6 separate regions of the Homo sapiens genome follow, and all the other regions are linked to region 2. The links are contacts of gene promoters, found by promoter capture Hi-C in blood cells and fetal thymus (Javierre and others, 2016). All regions are on one chromosome and are shown on one strand. The core of a region is centred on a gene start or on the middle of the fragment in contact, and the rest is flanking DNA. Distances in the headings are between cores, read along the strand shown.

Region 1 (3,077 bases), core at 508-3,007, 740 kb after region 2:
AGAGAAAAATAGCTTTAATACACAGCTAAGTTGATATTAAAGCAACTGGTCTTGGCCCTCCACTTCCTCCTTCCAAATAAATGCCATTTCTCTGGGTTCAGAAGAAATCACAAATTTCAAGCCCTGAATGTAATCTCTCAAGGGTTGTCACTGTTTCTAAAGCATGGCTCACGCAATAACAGCACTGGCAATTTCATCGCTCATCGCAGTTAATATATTTCAGTATGATCGAACCATAGTTTACAGGAAATTGCTAAACTATTAATGTCATGGATGAGGAAATCAGTACATGAGATAGCCAACTCCTAAAAATCTGAGAAAATGAGAAGTTGAGGGAATGGAGCTTGTTCAGTTGCTGAGATAACATTAACAGTGTGAGTGCCGTGGCTAAGATTTCAGCTTGGAGAGGATGGGTAAAGGCAGACCCATGGCCTCAAAGGGCAAGAAGAAGCTTCCTTAAGTCTAGATGTCACTGGTGGAGTGAGGCAAGCTTTTTCTTGGACATATGTGAGCTCTCACGGGACATGAGCAGTTTTAGAATTTGGGGGGTGGGGTTTAAGAGTTTTAGAAGTAAAGACATCCGTATCAGTCTGCTCAGGCTGCCATAATAAAACACCAGACTGCGTGGCTTGAACAACAGAAATGCGTTTTCTCATAGTTCTGAAGGCTGGAAAGTCCAAGATCAATGTCCAGTAGGGTTCAGTTTCTTGTGAGTGCTCTATCCCTGGCTTGCAAATGACCACCTTCTTACTATGTCCTCACATACATCCTCTCTCTGTTTTCTTCTTCTCATAAGGATACCAGCTCTATCAGATTAGGGCCCCGTGCTTTTGATCTTACTTAATGTTAATTACCTCCTAAAAGCACTATATTCAAATACAGTGACATTGAGGGTTAGGACTTAAACATCTAAGTTGGAGGGGGGCATGGGACACAAATTAGTCCATAGCAATGTCCAAAGAGCAAGAAGTCTAACCTCTTTGTCTTTCAGATGAAGAAACTAAAGTCACTCTTCTTATATACTCTTTTTCAGCAAGAATTAAGGGCTAAAATAATTCAACAGGTGCTAGGTGCCCACATTCTAAAATAAGGGGCTAAACTACGTAAGTTGGATGTGCTGAGAGACTGGAAACCATGCTAACATCATATGGTTACCACTTTCAAGCTACACAAGAGGAGACAAAGAATTCACATAGGTGTTAAGGATGTTGGAGAGAGGGGATTTTAATGCAGATGTTGGGGAGAGAGGATATTGAAGAGAAAATATTGTTCCTGAGCAGCATGGTGTCTCTCTCCCACTTCAAAGGGGGAGAATAATGGGCACTTTCTCTCCAATGAGATGCAACAAAAACTTGGCAAGTGACCCCAGGAATTTGACAGACAGAGACACTGGTGCCTGACTCTCAAGAGTGTAAGTCTAAAACTGAAAGATTATGGCTAGATTAGATTGCAACAGAGTAAGGAGAAAGGACTCTACGGGGAGATGGCTGAGCTTTATATCAAAGACAACCACCCCACAGAGTAAATTGACCTCAACAGAAGTTCAAGAGGCTGCAGTCAGAGGTCCCCAGTGCAGGACCTCTAATGAACTCACCAAAGGGTCCCATGAGAACAAGTGCCAGTTACTGTCTATCTGCTGCATAAAGAGCTCACTGGTGTCAGATTCTAGAGTAACCACTCTATGTGCTCTTTATCCCTTGTCCATGTACTTCCCACACCCTCCCCTCCTGAGCCTGACCCATCAGGGATCAGAAGCAGCAACTGGCAGAATGGGGGAGGAGTGAATTTCAGAAAATGCAGTGAGCACTTTTTGGACTTATCACAAAATGTTTTGTTTTAAGGTGGTCTTTATCAAGCTGAGCACAGATGCATGAGTAACCCCATCAAGATCAGCCTCAAATGCTATATCTCATTGCTAACTACCATGCACGTACAAATATACCTCAAAGTTGTTTACCTATAATGATACCTAAAACTTTGAATAAAACTTCAAGTAAGTTAAATGAATTTTATGTGTGGAATGCTAACTGTACTTGAAAATAAATATGTTCCTGATACCTTGTTGACAAAACACCCAGGGATAGAGAAAATGTTGGTGAGCTAGAAATCAGAGAGACCTAACTTCTAGGGCCAGCTCCACAACTAACTTTTTCTAGGGCCTTGAGTAAGTCTCTCTGGGCCTCATTTTCCCCATCATTAAGAGCAAGATGTTGGACTCAATGAGCTCTATGGTTTTACGATTTTTTTTAATTCTTCTCTAAATCTTTCAGTATCTCACAAACAAAGGCATTTATTTGAAATTTTAAAATCCTAGAAATGATACCTCAATTTAACAGTTGAATAATTAGGGACCCAGAGAAATTCAGAAAGTTTTCCATTGTCACGCAATGAAAGAGTAGCAGTGCCAGAACAAGAAGCCAGTTCTTTGGAATCCAAGGTCAAGAGTATTTCCAAACACCATGCTGCCTTTCTACACAAGATGGCATGATTTCTCAAAGACTCTTACAGCTATTAACAAACATCATCCACAGCTACTTCTGGCTGCCCAAAGCCATCTGTATTACTGTGATAGATTGTAAAACTGTCACAAGTTCATCTCTTTCCTGTATCTAGGACCCCTGCCATACAACCACGAGTGCCTCCCATTCTGACTCTGGGCTCAGCCAACAGACTCCCCTTGGGCAATGGGACATTAGCAAATGTGATCCAAGCAGAAACTTGATAAGCACTTGTGTGGTAGGGCCTGTCCTCTTTCTGGCTGTCCTTAGAACTCTGAGTCACCATGTGAATGAGCCCAGACTAGCCTGCAAGATAATGAGGGACATGTGACCCAGTCATCCCTGGCACCCCACCCACCACCAGTCAACCCCAGAAGCAGAGCAGCATAGCGACCAGCAGTTGACTACAGATGCATGAGTGTGTCCAGTTAGGATCAGCAGAAGAACCATCTGAGCCCTACCCAAATTGCTGAACAATAGACTCCTGAGTTAAAGAAATGGCTTTGGTTTTAAGCTATTAAGCTTTGGATTGATTTATAACACAACACAACAAAGTATATAAATATACATATGTATAAT
Region 2 (3,197 bases), core at 175-2,674:
ATTTATTGCGTTTATTTCTGTTTTCTGCTCATTAAAATTGTAATTAATGATCTCATCCAAATTTGCTGTAGCGACCACCTTCCAATGGTGTGTTACTTTAACATGCTGAATTCTCAAAATTGTCAAAGGGTTTTCCTTCTCCAGCCCGCAGTTCAACCCTGTCGGGAACGTAAAGATCAGCCAGAGATGGAAGAGATTTAGAGAGTAAAGGAAGCCACCCTTCAACTCCTAAACTCTAGATAGACATCCCACCACCACTGTCCAGGAGCTGGTACATCTCCATCTCCCGTAGCAACTCTAGAATTGGGAGTAGGCGCCAGAGTTTTGGAGAGGGTTTTCAAAAGCTTACAGTTCCCAGGGTGTACCTAGATGCTTCTGTATCTAAAGTTTCCGCCTGAATTTTGATGATTCTACCCCCATGTAAACCCAAAGGAAATAACAACAATAATCAAAGGGAGAAAAGTTAAGGGAAAAAACTCCCTCACTGTTCTCAGGTATAAACATCATCTGACAGATAAATATTCCTATTAAACGGATTCAGTTTTCAGCGAATTGAGTAACCCATAAATGATAATGAACGCGGTGGGAAGCGACGGGCGGGGGGGAACTCGGGAATGAAAAAAAAAATAAAGTGGAGGAGAAAGAACAGAAAAGGAAAGCAGGAGGTGGAAAGATGGAAGAGGACGATCCTTTGGCCTACAAGGGGATTAAGGACATCTATAAGGCTTAAGGAGCAACAAATTAATTTACACAATTCTGGGAGAGCCCAGATGGCCTTTAATTAATCCCTTCAAAAGAAGGAGCCAGGCCAGGGCTGCGCCGGCTGCCTGCTCCATTAGCTCCATTTTACAAGGGACCAGACTTGGTTCGAGGTGAGGCGCCCTCCAGAGCTGGTGGGGGAAGGGGATAGGATGACGCGAGCGGGCTAGTGGGGAAGCAAGGGAAGAATATGAACTGCTTTTCCATAAAAGGGCTGAGTTTTCATTATTCCTCTCTTTAAAAAGTAATACCCTCTTCGTCTCTGCTTCCCCCTCCCCTTTCTCATTTTATTTAGCACAATTAATTGAGGCGGCCACTGGCCCCAGCGCGGAACCGCACCACTCACCAGCTCCCGCCCCTCCTGGCCCCGCCCACAGGAGAAAGAAGTAGGGAGCGGGAGGGGACTAGGCGGGCGCGGCCCTACGCCTGGCCCGCCTCAGCCAATCAGAGGGTGCGGCGCCCCCGAGTGGGCGAGCCCCAGGGGCGACGCAAGGATCGAGGCGGCGAGCTATTGGACACGGTGGTTACGCCCCCGGCCTGCGCCCGGCTCGCCGGCCCCCGCAGCCTCGGAGTGACGTCCCTCAAAGTTCTCATTTTGGTCCCCCACTTCCCCCTCCCTTTCGTCCCCCAGCTAAAGAGGGGTAGGGAGTGATGCAAATGTTTTATTACCTTTGAGAGCTTCATCTGAACTGTCAGGCCCGGAGGGAGAGAGGAAAGGAGAGAAAGAGCGGAGGAGCCGCGGAGAGGGTCAGTTTGGCCAGAGGACAGGACTTAGAAGACCGAAGCCTGGGAAGCCGCGAAGAAAATGCCAGAGAGGAGAGTCAAAGGCTGAGAGTGAGAGGGAGAGAGGGAGCGGGGGTGGGGCGGGGGTCGCCGGGCCCGTTTGCAGAAGTGGACTGACGAGCGGCGCCGAAACCCAGCCGTCAGACTTTTCACACTTAGTCTTTTGTTTTTCTGTGTTTTTCCTCCCCCTTTTTCTTTTCAATATTGCAACTCCAGTGCCCCGTGGGCCAGAGGGCAAGGCGGGTGGAGGTGAGGACCTGGGAGCCGCGGGGATCCGTGGCACTGCCCTTTCTGGCGCAGCAGCCCGGGGCAGCGTGGGCGGAGGAAGCCCGCACAGAGGCTAGATCTCCCGCGGGCTGGATGCGCTTTCTCCCCGGGCACAGTGAGCGTCGAATGCGAATCAGCCGCGCGACCGAAAGAGCAGAGCATCCCAGTAAGATCAGAGGAGCGCCACGGGCTGCACAAGGCGTCCTTTGAACCTCCCCAAAGAAAGCAAGCCACCCCCACCCTCCAACTTCAAAGTGGAGATTCGGCAACTAACTTTGCTACAAACTCTCCGGAGCCAGCCTGGGTTTTGTTTTGCTTATTTCCCGGGGGCAGAAGATGAGAAGTAGCGCACTTTGAACAGCTAGGAAAAGTGAGGAAGAGAGAATAGCCAGGGATCGAATCTAGGACTCGCGGAACGAAAGGACTGCCTAGCCCGCCGGGACGCCTGCTTTTCTCGGCGAGCTGCCGCCTCCCGCGTGGAGGGTTTGGACATCTCTGCTGCGCAGCTAGGCGAGCAACTCCCGGCAGCGGCATTTTTGGTTCAGTTGGCAGCTCGCCTCCGGGCGCGCCGAGTGCCTCTCCGCTCGCGCCCTCGGCGCTTCCGGCTCCTCTGAGCCCCGCGGGGGGCACCAGCCAGCGCCCTCGCTGCAAGGCTACGGTCTCCGGCGTGGCCGTGGGATGTTAGCGGTGGGGGCAATGGAGGGCACCCGGCAGAGCGCATTCCTGCTCAGCAGCCCTCCCCTGGCCGCCCTGCACAGCATGGCCGAGATGAAGACCCCGCTGTACCCTGCCGCGTATCCCCCGCTGCCTGCCGGCCCCCCCTCCTCCTCGTCCTCGTCGTCGTCCTCCTCGTCGCCCTCCCCGCCTCTGGGCACCCACAACCCAGGCGGCCTGAAGCCCCCGGCCACGGGGGGGCTCTCATCCCTCGGCAGCCCCCCGCAGCAGCTCTCGGCCGCCACCCCACACGGCATCAACGATATCCTGAGCCGGCCCTCCATGCCCGTGGCCTCGGGGGCCGCCCTGCCCTCCGCCTCGCCCTCCGGTTCCTCCTCCTCCTCTTCCTCGTCCGCCTCTGCCTCCTCCGCCTCTGCCGCCGCCGCGGCTGCTGCCGCGGCCGCAGCCGCCGCCTCATCCCCGGCGGGGCTGCTGGCCGGACTGCCACGCTTTAGCAGCCTGAGCCCGCCGCCGCCGCCGCCCGGGCTCTACTTCAGCCCCAGCGCCGCGGCCGTGGCCGCCGTGGGCCGGTACCCCAAGCCGCTGGCTGAGCTGCCTGGCCGGACGCCCATCTTCTGGCCCGGAGTGATGCAGAGCCCGCCCTGGAGGGACGCACGCCTGGCCTGTACCCCTCGTGAGTACTACCACCCGCGCCCCGATGCCTGCCTGCCGTG
Region 3 (3,253 bases), core at 375-2,874, 800 kb after region 2:
ATTTCAATTATTGAGATAATTCCTGTTGCCTGGTAGAAGCAAATGTAGAGCCTCTATGTAAAAAGACCTTATCATTCTAAACCTCAAAATTATTTTCCCCAACAATTTTGCAAATACAATTTTCTGCATGCAGTCAAAAATAACCAGGCAAATTATGAGATAAGACAACATAAACAGAAACAGCAGAAACAATAGACAGTAGAACAAAACCTACAGTGGCTCGAGAAAGAGTAGTCACTACACAGCAACTGTAATATAATTATGAAAACTATATTCAAGAAGATAAAAGAAACTATATAGACTGTAGGTAAAGAACTGGGAACTATAAAAAATAACTACATGGAAATTCTAAAACTAAGACAAATTATAATAACCAAAAATAAGATCTTAACAAATGGATTTAAAAGCAGAGTACATTACATTAAAAAAAGAATGAACAGGAAAAAATCAGAAGAAAATAAGAACTAAAGTATGAAGATATGAAAAGATTTTTAAATGTGATAGAGAGAATAAGACATACAGAGAACACTGAAAAGTTTGAATATGCATGGAGTCACAGAAAGGAGAAAGATAATGTAAAAAAGCAATAGCTGAAGAAAATATGATAGAACTATTTAAAACTGATGGAAAACATAAAGCTATGGATTCAAGAAGGCCTATAAAAGCCAAGGATAAAAAGAAAATTACAGAGCCATAATATTACTGAAGGATGACTTCTCAATAGAAACAATGAGGGCCAGAAATATTAGAATGGTATTTTTAAACTTGCAAAAGGAAGTAACTTACAGTCTAGAATTCTACACACTGCAAAAATGTCTTTCAAAAGTGAGAGTAAAATAAAGACATTTTCAGACAAACAGAACTGAATTTGTCACCAGCAGACCCACTCTAAGTGGAATTGTAAAGGTTTGTCACTACATTTTTTTTCATAATTTTATGTAAATTTATTGAAGAGAAATGATGCTTGCTAAATTAAAATCTGATCAGTTGAGTGTATGTCGGTATCACTCTTTTAGCAAACTAATAACTGCATAAACATTTCTTGCATGTGTTAAAACTTCGGGCTCCTACAGATCAACTTTTTGATGATTATAGAATAGCACAATTATTTTATATTCTTACAATTACTGCTTACATAATGCAGAATAATACCTACTTTAGTAAAAATCTATTCATCTCATCATGTTCTTGTTCCTAAAAGTAAGGAACTAAGGTTTCATTTAGGGTGGCTCAGTTGGTCTGTTTTGGAAAGGGAAAAGGTAAGGTTAGGTAGTTTATGTTGCTATATATTGATTCACAATCCTGGGACCTTCTGTTCGAAGATACAAAAAATACATACATCCTAATAATTGCATTCTTACACTAACTTTTGGGGCTAGAATTATCATTTTACTTGCCAATGACCTACATAGTAGCCTAAACCAAAAATCATATAGGATATTGTTATGTTTTCCCAATTTAAGTATAAAAATATTTATATGTTCCACTTGTTCCTTTTCACGGTTTCCACCATGCTCTATTGGCTTACACCTGGCATTTTGTGTGACAGAGGTTTCAACTTTAGAAATGCCAAAAAACAAAATGTGGGTACAAGAAGGAAAAGATGACAGAGTTGGTTTTTTTCTTTTTTTTTTTTTTTTGAGATGAATTCTCACTCTGTAGCCAGGCCAGAGTGCAGTGGTGTGATCTCAGCTCACTGCAGCCTCCCTCTCCCAGGTTCAAGTGATTCTCCTGCCTCAGCCTCCCGAGTAGCTGGGACTACAGGTGTGCGTCACCATGACCAGCTAATTTTTGTATTTTTAGTAGAGACAGGATTTCACCATGTTGGCCAGGATAGTCTCGATCTCTGGACCTTGTAATCCACCTGCCTCAAACTCCCAAAGTGTTGGGATTACAGGTGTAAGCCACCGCTCCTGGCCAGATATTTTAATTTATCAAGATTTACGTAAAACAAGGAAAAACGACTGTTACTTTAACATTTGTCACTAAAGTGCTTCTTAGGAAGAAAATTTGTCTTTAAGTAAGAAATATTTTTAAAACCTATTACATATAAAGATAAGACCTTGAGATTAAGGATTGGCTAGGGAAATGAGACAAGCACCTCTGTAGGCAAATATAGGTGAATGGGAGGGCTCTAGAAAAGAGAGAGAAGAGGGAAGGAGAAAGGGAAACAAGGAAGGCTGGGTAAACTGGCAGGTGGCTGGAGCCTACATAAGAAGCCAATTAACCAAGATAGCTGAAGGATTTTAAAGAACAGGATATTTAATACTTAATGGTATGCTGTTTATGCCTCTGAGTTAGGAAACCCCTCCACTATTGTAAAGCGTCTACTAAATTCTGCTATAAACAAAAGTTTCCTGTGAGTTTTTTGGGAAGAAAGCTAGGAAAGGGGGCCAAGTTCTGTATCTGTAATTTGTTAAATATAAAAAAAAAATACAAGATAAAATGTTCATTAAATTGAAAGTTCAGGGAAAACAGGAACTTAGAGTTAAAAGTGAGTGTTAAAATGTAGATTTACAAGAATTTGCGAAATTTTGACCAACTGCTGAGATTCTCAAAGAATACTAGGAAGCCTTTCCTTAAAAATCTCATATACAAGGTGACTTCAGTTGATATCTGGATCATGTCTTTTTTTACTATTTAAAAATTTACATTATTCCTACCACCAAAAGCACTGGAAAGAATACTTGAGAAACACAGGCTTAATTGAAGATGACAATGGCATCCTACTGCTAGAAATTATCAAGATAGAGTATTTTCATTAAGCAAATCAAAATCCAGAAAAGATAATAAACATCTTCCAGGTCCCAACATTACCTCCTTGATTCCGCTTTGACTTCAATTCCTAATGCTATGTTGGGCACTTAGTAGGAGCCCAAGAAACTATTGTTAAACTAAATCTATGGACAAAGGACTTGGTTTTATTAAGGTCTTTTCCTTAATACGGAATATTGCTACATTAGAGTTTCCATTAGACCGCTGGTATTCATGCAAGTGGACACATATAAGGACTTTCAAACTTGTTAGAGCATAAAAATACCATTTTAGAAATTACTTATCCTGGAATAATATTTCTTAGAGAATTATCACTGGAAGGTTGAAAAAAAGATCTGATATTTTATCTGAATAAAGGTACTCACTAAAGCAGAGTTTGAATGCTTTCGAATACTTTCATATGTGCATAAAAAAGAATTCCAGAAATGGTAGAGAATATACCTTCTTCTCACTGAACGTAACAAATGTAAATCATTTG
Region 4 (3,412 bases), core at 528-3,027, 840 kb after region 2:
GGTAAAGAGCACGGGGATTTATAGACTGGCTTGAGGAGGCAGTGTCTGTTTTACATAGGGCCCAAAGATTGGTTGGACCAGGTGTGACATTTACATAGCACTGGAAGAAGCTGGCCACCCCCATCCCCCGCTAATCTTTTATTATGCAAATCGATTTTTTTACATGGCCGCGCCATGTTGTCAGCTCCTTAGGGTATATGGGATTGATAAAAGGGAAGATGGAGCCTCCATATTGAACATGCCTGGTCCCCAGGTAGCCTTTTCCTATTAGCACAGCTGCTGGCATTCACCCGTGCAAGCTTCCAGCTTGCTTATCTACGTTTGCAACCCAATTTTACAAGTTGCTTTTTGTTAGAAAAGAAATTATTTGGGGGCTGCTTTTCATTAAAAGGGAAACGTTACTGAGGACTTCCTTACCCTCACTATCTGCCTAAATAATTTCTTTTTAACTCCTATATCACAAGGAACATTGAGGGGATCCAAAATAAAGCTCACTTGCACACACGCCCCCAGGATTTCCCAATACCCACCACAACCTTGCCACAGGGTTCTTTGGGGCCACATCATTCCAACTCTAGAGAACCCCTATTAAAATGCAAAGGCATCAGATGGGAAGGGTAGGTCACTAAGCTACTATTTCCCAAACTTCAGGTATTTGCACACCGCAGCCCCATTTTTCTCTATATGGGAGTACTGCTGATAGGTGCAGGAGCAGATAAGGGGGAGGGTCCCCAGAGAATCTCCCACCGCCTGCGCACTGGGAGAACAGGGTGGTGCCACAGGAAGTTCTTACCGTGTGGTCGGGGAGGAGCCTGGCCTCTTCAGCTCATGTGTGTGACCTGGAATCAATCTGTGACGTTGGGGGCCTGTTAGCAGGACTCCCTCTCACTTTGCTGGGAGTCTTTTCTTCTTCTTCTTTTCCTTTTTTTGCCCAATAAATTCTGTTCCCCTCACCCTTCAATGAGTCTGTGTTCCTAATCCTTCGTGGTCCTGTGACAGGAACCCAGTTTCAGCTGAACTAAGGAGCAAAGTTCTGCAACACTACCTGTAGTATTTTTATCATATTTCATTGAATCCAAAACGCTCTGATGTTGACCTTTCTTGATTTAACCACAAGTATCAACTAAAGATTCTACACCACTCTAAGCACTTTGCCTGACCTAGTTCATGGACATTGTAAGTTGCATGCTGTGTCATGATTTCAGAAAGGTTAAAATAATAGTGGAGCACAATGTGAACCTTTAAAAACAGTGAAATTCAGCAATATTTTCTCCTTAAATCAACTCTTTTTTTCCTTAATAAATTTCTTTATAAAACTTTTTTTAAATCACCGTCCTAGAAACCAGTATCACTAGCATAAATAAAAGGAAACTGTGTAAATAAATGCAATGAGAACAAAGAAATAAATTTAAATTCTAGCTAATATAATTAATCAAAGTGTACATTTTTATTTATGCCTCTTCTAGTGTGTATATTATACCTAAATACAAAAAGCAGTCTAAGAAATTATTCTAGCCCCCAAGGCTTTGAGCCTGAAGGCTACACTTGCTTTATTTAAAAGGGAGATGAGCAATTTTCAAGGGTTAAAAACACACTAGCACCAAAATGAAACTTTATCCTTGACTGAATCAGAAAGACTTGAGAAGAAATTGAAAACGAAATAATTTTCACTCTACGTGATTCAATGTTATGTAATGTCACGTCCATATGCCACCACCTAAAATGTTCTCCCCCATACCACTAGTCCCACAGTGCCACTCAGTACCTAAGAGACACTGGAAAACCACCATTAACCCGTTTCAAATAAGTTTACAGAATTCATAAACTGTCATTTTGGAGTGCCAAGTAAAGGACCCTAGGCAATGGGTGAGAGGAAAGGTAAGTTCTGAGAGGTCTGTGAGGAAGGGGAGCCCAAGCATAGAGGGACATCACAGAGAAAGCAGCCTGGGGGAAAACACCAAAGAGAGCCAGCAGGAGGGCCCTGAACTGCCAGGAAGAGGCCACCTAAGTGACCTGTGCATCCGGGAAGGAGATGTCCTGGGGTGGGTCTGCAGGAAAAGGAGACAATTGAAGGCTAATTAGGGAGAATAGAAAACAAATCTTGCCAACTGAGCAATTCTGACATCACACCAGAATTCCCATTGAAATGGGCACCTGTTTATCACAACTCTTAACATTGCCCTTCCACCGAGTTAAGATACAGAGGGTTCTATGACAACACAGGCAAATAGTGTATACATAGGGATCCTGAGTTATTATGCTAAGGATTTGAGAGAAAACTAGCACTCAGTTCTGGTATTTAATCACTATTAGTTTAGGGTTTGGGGATATTTTTTGTTGTTGTTTTTGGTCTAATTCTCTTAGTTCCAATATATACCAACTCCCTCCTATATGAAGAACAATTAGCCAGAATGGTTTTCACAATAATCTTTCTTATACACTAGCTGCCTCTTTTCCAAAAAGGAGCAAGCCCACTTCCTTTAACCTAAAGATATGGCTACTTAGACAGAGATCACTTAAAAGGCAAATTCTAGGCGTTCTGAGTCAGTACGAGCAGGAAGTTGGTACTCTTAACTAAGATAACATAAAAATGGAGAATTTAACTTTTTATCACAGCCATTGGAATTCCTCACTTACTTTTTGTTTCATTCATCATTTTGTGATTCTCCTTTAATATACAGGGACCAAAATTGGTAATTATATTCTAAATAATGGTTGGCAATGCCAAGTATTCAAGAACATATCCTTGCCCTTTTCATGTCATACTCCTGTTAATCCATCTCTCAATAATGTTCCCTTTTTTAAATAACAGCCTTACTAACTGCTGACTCATATTCAATTTATGGTCCACAATACTTTAGCCAATTCTTTTCGTACCCTTGAATGCAAATCATCAGGGCCTGCACATTTACAGATCTCACTTATTTAAATTATCTCCCTCCAAGTCTTCGTTTTCCCTTTTCATTTTCCTAAAGTATGCATTACCCATTTCCAGAGCCCATTCACTTGATCATGCAGAAAGGTTTTTAAAAAAGACATTGAATGCCCTGTGGCCTTTTGATGTCATCAGTGAGTCTCTTTCTTTCCTATCTAATCAAAGGACAACACTCCATTCTAGTCTTTTCTTGCTCCTGATAGAGTAGAAAAAAAAGAAATACTCTATTTCACCTTTGGAAGTTGCATCTCATTTCCTGCTTTAGTAATTCTGACCTTACTTCTATAAACCTTTCTACAGGTATTTGTCCTTGAAGCTTCAGCTTTTTCTAGAATTTTTTTCTATTTCAGAAGCTTATGTAGTTCTTTGACAAATCAATTGGATTTTTTCTGTCTTCTCAACTTTTTTAGACATGTATGTGAACCTATTCTTCCTTTGTAACCTTGACAAAGTTCTGATGATGTACTTTAAGAAATC
Region 5 (3,060 bases), core at 319-2,818, 780 kb after region 2:
ATTAGAGGGTATCTGAATACTTACTATTACAGGCATCAGTAAATATCATCTGGCAATTGTGTCATCATACCTAAAAACACTACTATTCAAAGTCATAAGCAAATTCACTTAGAAAGTCACTGAGAAAAGCTAAGAATGAACTGGAAGGTGAGACTTTGCCTCTGGTGCTATAGCACTGATATTTCACTGGTGTTGCCTCCTACAGAGGCTTTATAAGGTGCAATGCTCTATAAAGGATCTCTCAAAATCGATGTTTGTCCTTGGCGTGTTTTCATCCAAAAGTGAAAGCTAATCATTTTTTACTCATTGGAGATTCTCTTAATTTCACAGTCAATGAAACACAGATTTCACTGCAAGCCAAAAGTTGAATTTTGCAAAGGTCAAAGGGAAAATTCAAGTTGCTGTGTCAGTGAGTCTCAAACCACAGGCTGAGATGTGCTGATCTGTCACAGCAGAATAACCTCAACACGGGACTGACTCCTTGCCTGACAGGGAGCATTGGGGGAACACAGATCCTCAGGACAGGTCCACAAAGAGGCAGGTCCACATTGCAGCAAGGTCCTCCAGTCGGTTAAAATTGATCTTTCTTTTTTTTTTCCAATTTAAAAATACTAATGTCTTTCGAAATTGCTTAGAGGTTGTGTGAATTTAGTGAACAAACACTTTTAAATACCTTCAATAAGCTTATACTTAGTCAAGTTTAAGGTTGAAAGAGAGAAAAAGAGTCGTTCAATATATTTTTAAAGTTGTATATATAAATAAATTTATATATTTTTAATATAACATATAAATATGTCGATTTATATATATAACTTTAAAATTATGTTAAATAGCTGTATATATTATATACAACTATATATATACAATTCTAGGCCAGACGCAGTAGCTCATGCCTGTAATCCCAATACTTTGGGAAGCACAGCCCAGGATTGCTTGAGCCTAGGAGTTCGAGACTAGCCTAGGCAACATAGTGAGACTTTGTCTCTAAAAAAAAACTAGCAAAATACCCAGGTGTGGTGGCTCACACCTGTTGCCTCAGCTACTTGGGAGACTGAAACAGGAAAATCGCTTGAGCCTGGGAGGTTGAGGTTGCAGTGAGCTGAGATTGCACCACTGCACTCCAGCCTGGATGACAGAGTAAGACCCTGTCTCAAAAACATAAATAAATAAACAATCCTATAGATCTCTGAATAACTATGTTGAATTCTCATCACATGAGCTTTCAATGATGTGTGTCTCTCCAGCCCTTGCTGTATGTATGTCAATAGAAATTCTATGAAGGGAAATGGCTCTGGAGGAATACCAGATTCTCAACCAAAAGGTGACAATACAATAAAAAATTATTTCAGTGAAAAAGAAAAGTTAGCTGTATAAGGGTGTACACTAATAAACAGATTTAAAACTTTACGTACAATAAATGAAAAGAGGATATAATCTGGAAGAAATTTTTCTCAGTGCATAAAGCTGTAGGAATATTGTTTTGAAAGATAAAATCTGGAATGGATTGAAGATTGAGAAAAATTCTATAGAGAAAATATGCCTCTTTTTTTAAGCTGTATTTATTGTCACAAAAACAAAATATCAAGGCCAACTCATTGTGACAGATATGAGGAGTCAGAACTAGTCAATGCCTGTTTTGTTTCAGCCTTCTCTATCCACAGCATGACTTTCACTCCTGAGAGGAGAGCGCTGATGTGGTTGAAGAGGAAGTAGAGCCCCGGGAAGGTGGAAGATAGTCAGGACCCAGCAAGCAGTTTGAAATAAATTCAAGTTTCGGGACCCAAAATAATAACTTTCCAGAGTATTAAAAAGACCACAATTATCATCCCACAATTACTGTCAAAATCCCAAGAAATTAAGGGAAAGGGAAAGGTTCCCCAAAACTAGATGAGAGCAAACATCTATATTTCCAAAAGAAATAAAGCGGACCCAAGGAACATTTTATGTTGAATCCCAGGATAATTCTAGATGTCTTGTGAGCACTGGAAAATAAAAGTGGGGTTCACTTGGATAACCCAGACTAACAAACAGGAGGGCCAGAGATTTACTCCATCTTGATTTCATCAGAGCATTTAATAAAATGGCTGGGATCTTTGTATTCAAGATGGAGAAATGGGGCTGAGGGAGTGAGAATGTGCAGAATTTATAGCTGGTTGAACAGTGTTAATTAAGTAACAGAGGGAACCCAGGGGAAGTTGGTATGCTGGAGTGCAGGTCCAAGAATCTGTGTGTTCAATTTTACTTTCTTGAAAGAAGACATCTCTCATACTGTAGTTGGCCCAGGGTGAGAGGAGAAGCTAACATTGCCAAAGGCTGCCAGCCTTACAATTTTTAAATAAGTTGGGAGCTGGCTGATGAGCCAGAAATAATAAGATAAAGTGTAATAAAAATAAATGTAAAGCCCAACATCCTCATTCAATAAATTGGAGCTCACAAACCAACCTCAAGCTTAACTGTGACCTAGAAAAAGAAGTCCCATTAAATGCAGGAGCAGCACAAGCATCATTTAAAGTTCAACAAATAAGATTCTACACTTAGTCCTAGCCAATTTAAAAAAAACAAATAAAATAAATAAAAACAACCAGTAAAGATAAAAGATTGATATCCAGGCAATATGACTAGATACTCAGAAAGTACAAGAGAATCAAACAATTAGAAAACTATCTTTGAAAGCAAATAAGGCCAGAAGTAGTGGCACATGCCTATAATCCCAACACTTTGGGAGGCGGAAGCAGGTGGACCACTTGAGGTTAGAGTTCAAGACCAGCCTGGCCAACATGGTGACACCCTGTCTCCACAAAAAATACAAAAATTAGCCGGGCGTGGTGGCATGCACCTGTAATCCCAGCTCCTCCGGAGGCTGAGGCAGGAGAATCTCTTGAACCTGGGAGGCGGAGGTTGCAGTGAGCTGAGATTGCGCCACTGTACTCCAGCCTGGGTGACAAAATAAGACTCCGTCTCAGAAAAAAAAAAGCTACTAAAAGTAGTAATCCAAGATGAAGTTACAAAAATTGAATGCTTTTCTATATTTCTAGAAAAGCCATTTCAAAAATGTTTTAA
Region 6 (2,940 bases), core at 237-2,736, 820 kb after region 2:
ATGTCAAAGCTTTTTGAAAAACCATCAAGTGTTGTTCAAATGCAGGGCTTTATCACTGATATTAATAAATTTTAAAAATGTGATGTGTTAAATCCTGAAGGTGCATGCTACTCCCGTCCTCCCACTGTGACTTTCATTTATTCCATCTGTATTTTTCAAGTACCTTTCTTGTGCCTGGCATTAACCAGACACTAGGAATACAAAAGTGAGCTGTAGCCAGACATAAAATGGCAAATAATGTATGATTCCACTTACAGTAAGTATCTAGAATAGGCAAATTCATAGTGACAAAGTAGAACAGAGGCTACTAGGGACTGAGGGGAGGGAAAATGGGGAGTTGTTCTTTAATGGTTACAAAGCTCTGTTTCAGGTGATAAAGAATTGTGGAACTAGATAGTGGTGATGGTTACACAACATTGTATACGTACTTAAGGCCACTAAATTGTACACTTAAAATGGTTAAAATGATAAATTTTATGTCATGTATATTTTATCACAATGTTTTCAAAAATGAGTTGAAACAAAAATAAGTGAAATGAGCATGTTTTTTCTTCCTCCTGCCAAACAGGACCCTGTCTCCCAGTGAAATAAAAATTTAAAAAAAAAAAAAACAAAAAACAAAAACTCTGCTGATATGGATCCTGTTGCTTTCTGCTCCCCAGGAAGCTTCTTCAAGGTTCTTTATCATCTCGCATTCTGACACTAAGAATGTATTCGATTCATGGTTATTTCCACAATATTGAGTATTATCAAACTTTCATTATCTTGGATGTTCACTGAAACTCTCTTCCCACAGCTGAGTAAATATTCTTCCAACAGGAAGCCTAACAGATGAATTGTCTTGGCTCTGAAATGTATTTTCACGTCAGAACTCAGACAAGTGTGACAATTTCTTCCTCTAAGCTCCTCTTTTGAATAGTTTAGCATGGCTGAAGGCTTTACCACCTTCCCTCACCTTCAGGATATTCTTTTCCAAACACAACTTGCCATTACTAAAGACCATCTCCTCCCAGGAGAGAGAGCAATGCCCTGGCCTAGAAAGGGGAGGCAGTTTCAGTTGGAGAATCAAGCAATACACTCAAGAAAGCTGAATTCTGCTTTCAGTTCTGTTCCCAGTTTAATCATAAGATCAAAGCATACCCTTCCAATTCTTCTCTAGGTAAAAGGAGAGATTATAACACCTCCTAAAAAAAACTCACTATAATTTAATAACCCAATTTCTAAGAAAACACATTATGAAAAAGACTTAAGCAGAGCAAAATTATTTGGGTCTTTAAGGAATTAAATCATTTTGGTTGGGATCCAAGACCAACCCAATTTATATTAAATTAAAGTTATTACTGTTATAGTCAAGTTGTTGAGTGTAGGATTCATTTGGCATAGTATTCACTGATGTGTTTGTTGTACTACTATAAGAATGTAATTAGGCTTATTTATATATGTCAGCCTTGTCACTCACCTTAAATTTCATCTTCAGTTGCTCACCAAGTTGACTAATTTGCCATTCTTTAAATTCATGCCTCATTCTAAATGAGGTTTTCCAACCTCATCTCTAGTGACATCTTGAACTAGATGATTCAGGTAATTTATTGTTATGAGAGCCCGTCTTGTGCATTGCAGGACGTTTAGCAGCATCTCTGCTCACTACACCCCTCTCCAAATGTTATAATAAACAAAAATGTCTTTTTTTTTTTTTTTTTGAGAAAGAGTCTTGCTTTGTCACCCAGGCTGGAGTGCAGTGGCATGATCTCGGTTCACTGCAACCTTCGCCTCCCAGGTTCAAGTGATTCTCTTGCCTAAGCCCCTGGAGTAGCTGGGATCATAGGTGCGTGCCACCATGCCTGGCTAATTTTTGTATTTTTAGTACAGACCGTGTTTCCCCACGTTAACCAGGCTGGTCTCGAACTCCTGACCTCAAGTGATCCACCTGCCTCAGCCTCCCAAACTGCTGGGATTACAGGCACGAGCCACCGCACCCAGCCAAAAATGTCTTTAGACATTGCCAAATGTCCCCAGGGAAGAAAATTCCACTCCCTCTCCCACCCAGTACGGTTAAGAACCACCTCCACAGACTTTGTTTCTAGTGGTGTATTATAACTAACATTGAATAACTACTCCTGTCAACAGCATCATCCATCCCTTCAGAACTCCTACATGGCCACAGTTTGTCTCACCTCCGTCTTTCAGAATGCCTCCTTTGCTCTGAGGAGTAGGGTAATTCTTGTCCAAAAATATCTTCTACTGCATAGCCCTAGTGTGAGAGTCTGAAAAGTATCTGAAAGATAGTCGGTCTCTTAAAAGCTTCATCATTACTGAAAATCGCAAGCTGGAAATGCTTAAATAAGTTTTGAGGTAGGGCTTGTAGATGAGATTCAGATAAAAATCAAAACTGATTAGAAACAGTCACCACAACTCAAAAGGAATCTTACTAAAATCCTTTTAGAAAACTCAGAAACAGAAAAACAAAAAGTTGTGTAATCTTTTCAGAAACACCCACTCACTTCACATTGTTTTAATTCAAACTCAGTGAGAACTAAAGAGCAGAGAAATATTCCCTGTGTGTCAGATCCTATATTGTAACTCTCTTGAACTTTTCTAGCAAAAAAAATGGATTCTTTTCATAAACCGTTCCAGACTCTATGTGGCAAATGTGTCTAATTCAGTGTGATTGGAAACATTTTCCACAAACTTTCTCCCTGACCCTAAGATCAGCTTCATAAATCTCAGATGGTCCTTGAGAGACTACAATGTGATTTGAAATATTGGAAAACTTGAGATTTCAGGAAACTGATGTAAACTGTTTGATGTTTACCCCTCACTTTCAAATTTCCCAGACTCTCTAATGAGCCTTTTGGGGTGTTTCTTCCAATCGATTGCCAAGGTAAACATGGGTACATTTGAGAAAGAAAAGGAGGAAAAATATTTCCACAATTCTGAGTA

What was found. Contacts are between HindIII fragments. The CHiCAGO score rates a contact against its expected background, and 5 or more counts as called.
Region 1: a fragment that was not itself captured here is called in contact with the fragment with the promoter of NKX6-1 in region 2 in 2 of 17 cell types (M1 macrophages and M2 macrophages); the score reaches 5.7 in M1 macrophages.
Region 3: a fragment that was not itself captured here is called in contact with the fragment with the promoter of NKX6-1 in region 2 in 1 of 17 cell types (M1 macrophages); the score reaches 5.2 in M1 macrophages.
Region 4: a fragment that was not itself captured here is called in contact with the fragment with the promoter of NKX6-1 in region 2 in 10 of 17 cell types (megakaryocytes, M0 macrophages, M1 macrophages and 7 more); the score reaches 11.1 in megakaryocytes.
Region 5: a contact is called between a fragment that was not itself captured here and the fragment with the promoter of NKX6-1 in region 2, in 3 of 17 cell types (M1 macrophages, M0 macrophages and monocytes). The highest score is 9.2, in M1 macrophages.
Region 6: a contact is called between a fragment that was not itself captured here and the fragment with the promoter of NKX6-1 in region 2, in 7 of 17 cell types (megakaryocytes, M0 macrophages, M2 macrophages and 4 more). The highest score is 9.6, in megakaryocytes.

What each region holds. Positions count from the first base shown.
Region 1 is chr4:83,756,960-83,760,036 of GRCh38, reverse strand. No RefSeq gene overlaps it. Among named protein-coding and RNA genes, the nearest start is that of GPAT3, 220 kb to the right of the region's middle. The HindIII fragment of the contact is 2,530 bases long and covers 493-3,022 here.
Region 2 is chr4:84,497,519-84,500,715 of GRCh38, reverse strand. It overlaps NKX6-1 (NK6 homeobox 1), which reads left to right and starts at 1,424. Exons shown (of 3, transcript NM_006168.3): 1 at 1,424-3,157. The coding sequence starts at 2,488. The HindIII fragment of the contact is 5,978 bases long and covers 347-3,197 here.
Region 3 is chr4:83,694,836-83,698,088 of GRCh38, reverse strand. No RefSeq gene overlaps it. Among named protein-coding and RNA genes, the nearest start is that of GPAT3, 160 kb to the right of the region's middle. The HindIII fragment of the contact is 3,451 bases long and covers 1-3,253 here.
Region 4 is chr4:83,660,988-83,664,399 of GRCh38, reverse strand. No RefSeq gene overlaps it. Among named protein-coding and RNA genes, the nearest start is that of GPAT3, 130 kb to the right of the region's middle. The HindIII fragment of the contact is 2,952 bases long and covers 302-3,253 here.
Region 5 is chr4:83,720,309-83,723,368 of GRCh38, reverse strand. No RefSeq gene overlaps it. Among named protein-coding and RNA genes, the nearest start is that of GPAT3, 190 kb to the right of the region's middle. The HindIII fragment of the contact is 1,765 bases long and covers 686-2,450 here.
Region 6 is chr4:83,677,345-83,680,284 of GRCh38, reverse strand. No RefSeq gene overlaps it. Among named protein-coding and RNA genes, the nearest start is that of GPAT3, 140 kb to the right of the region's middle. The HindIII fragment of the contact is 1,635 bases long and covers 669-2,303 here.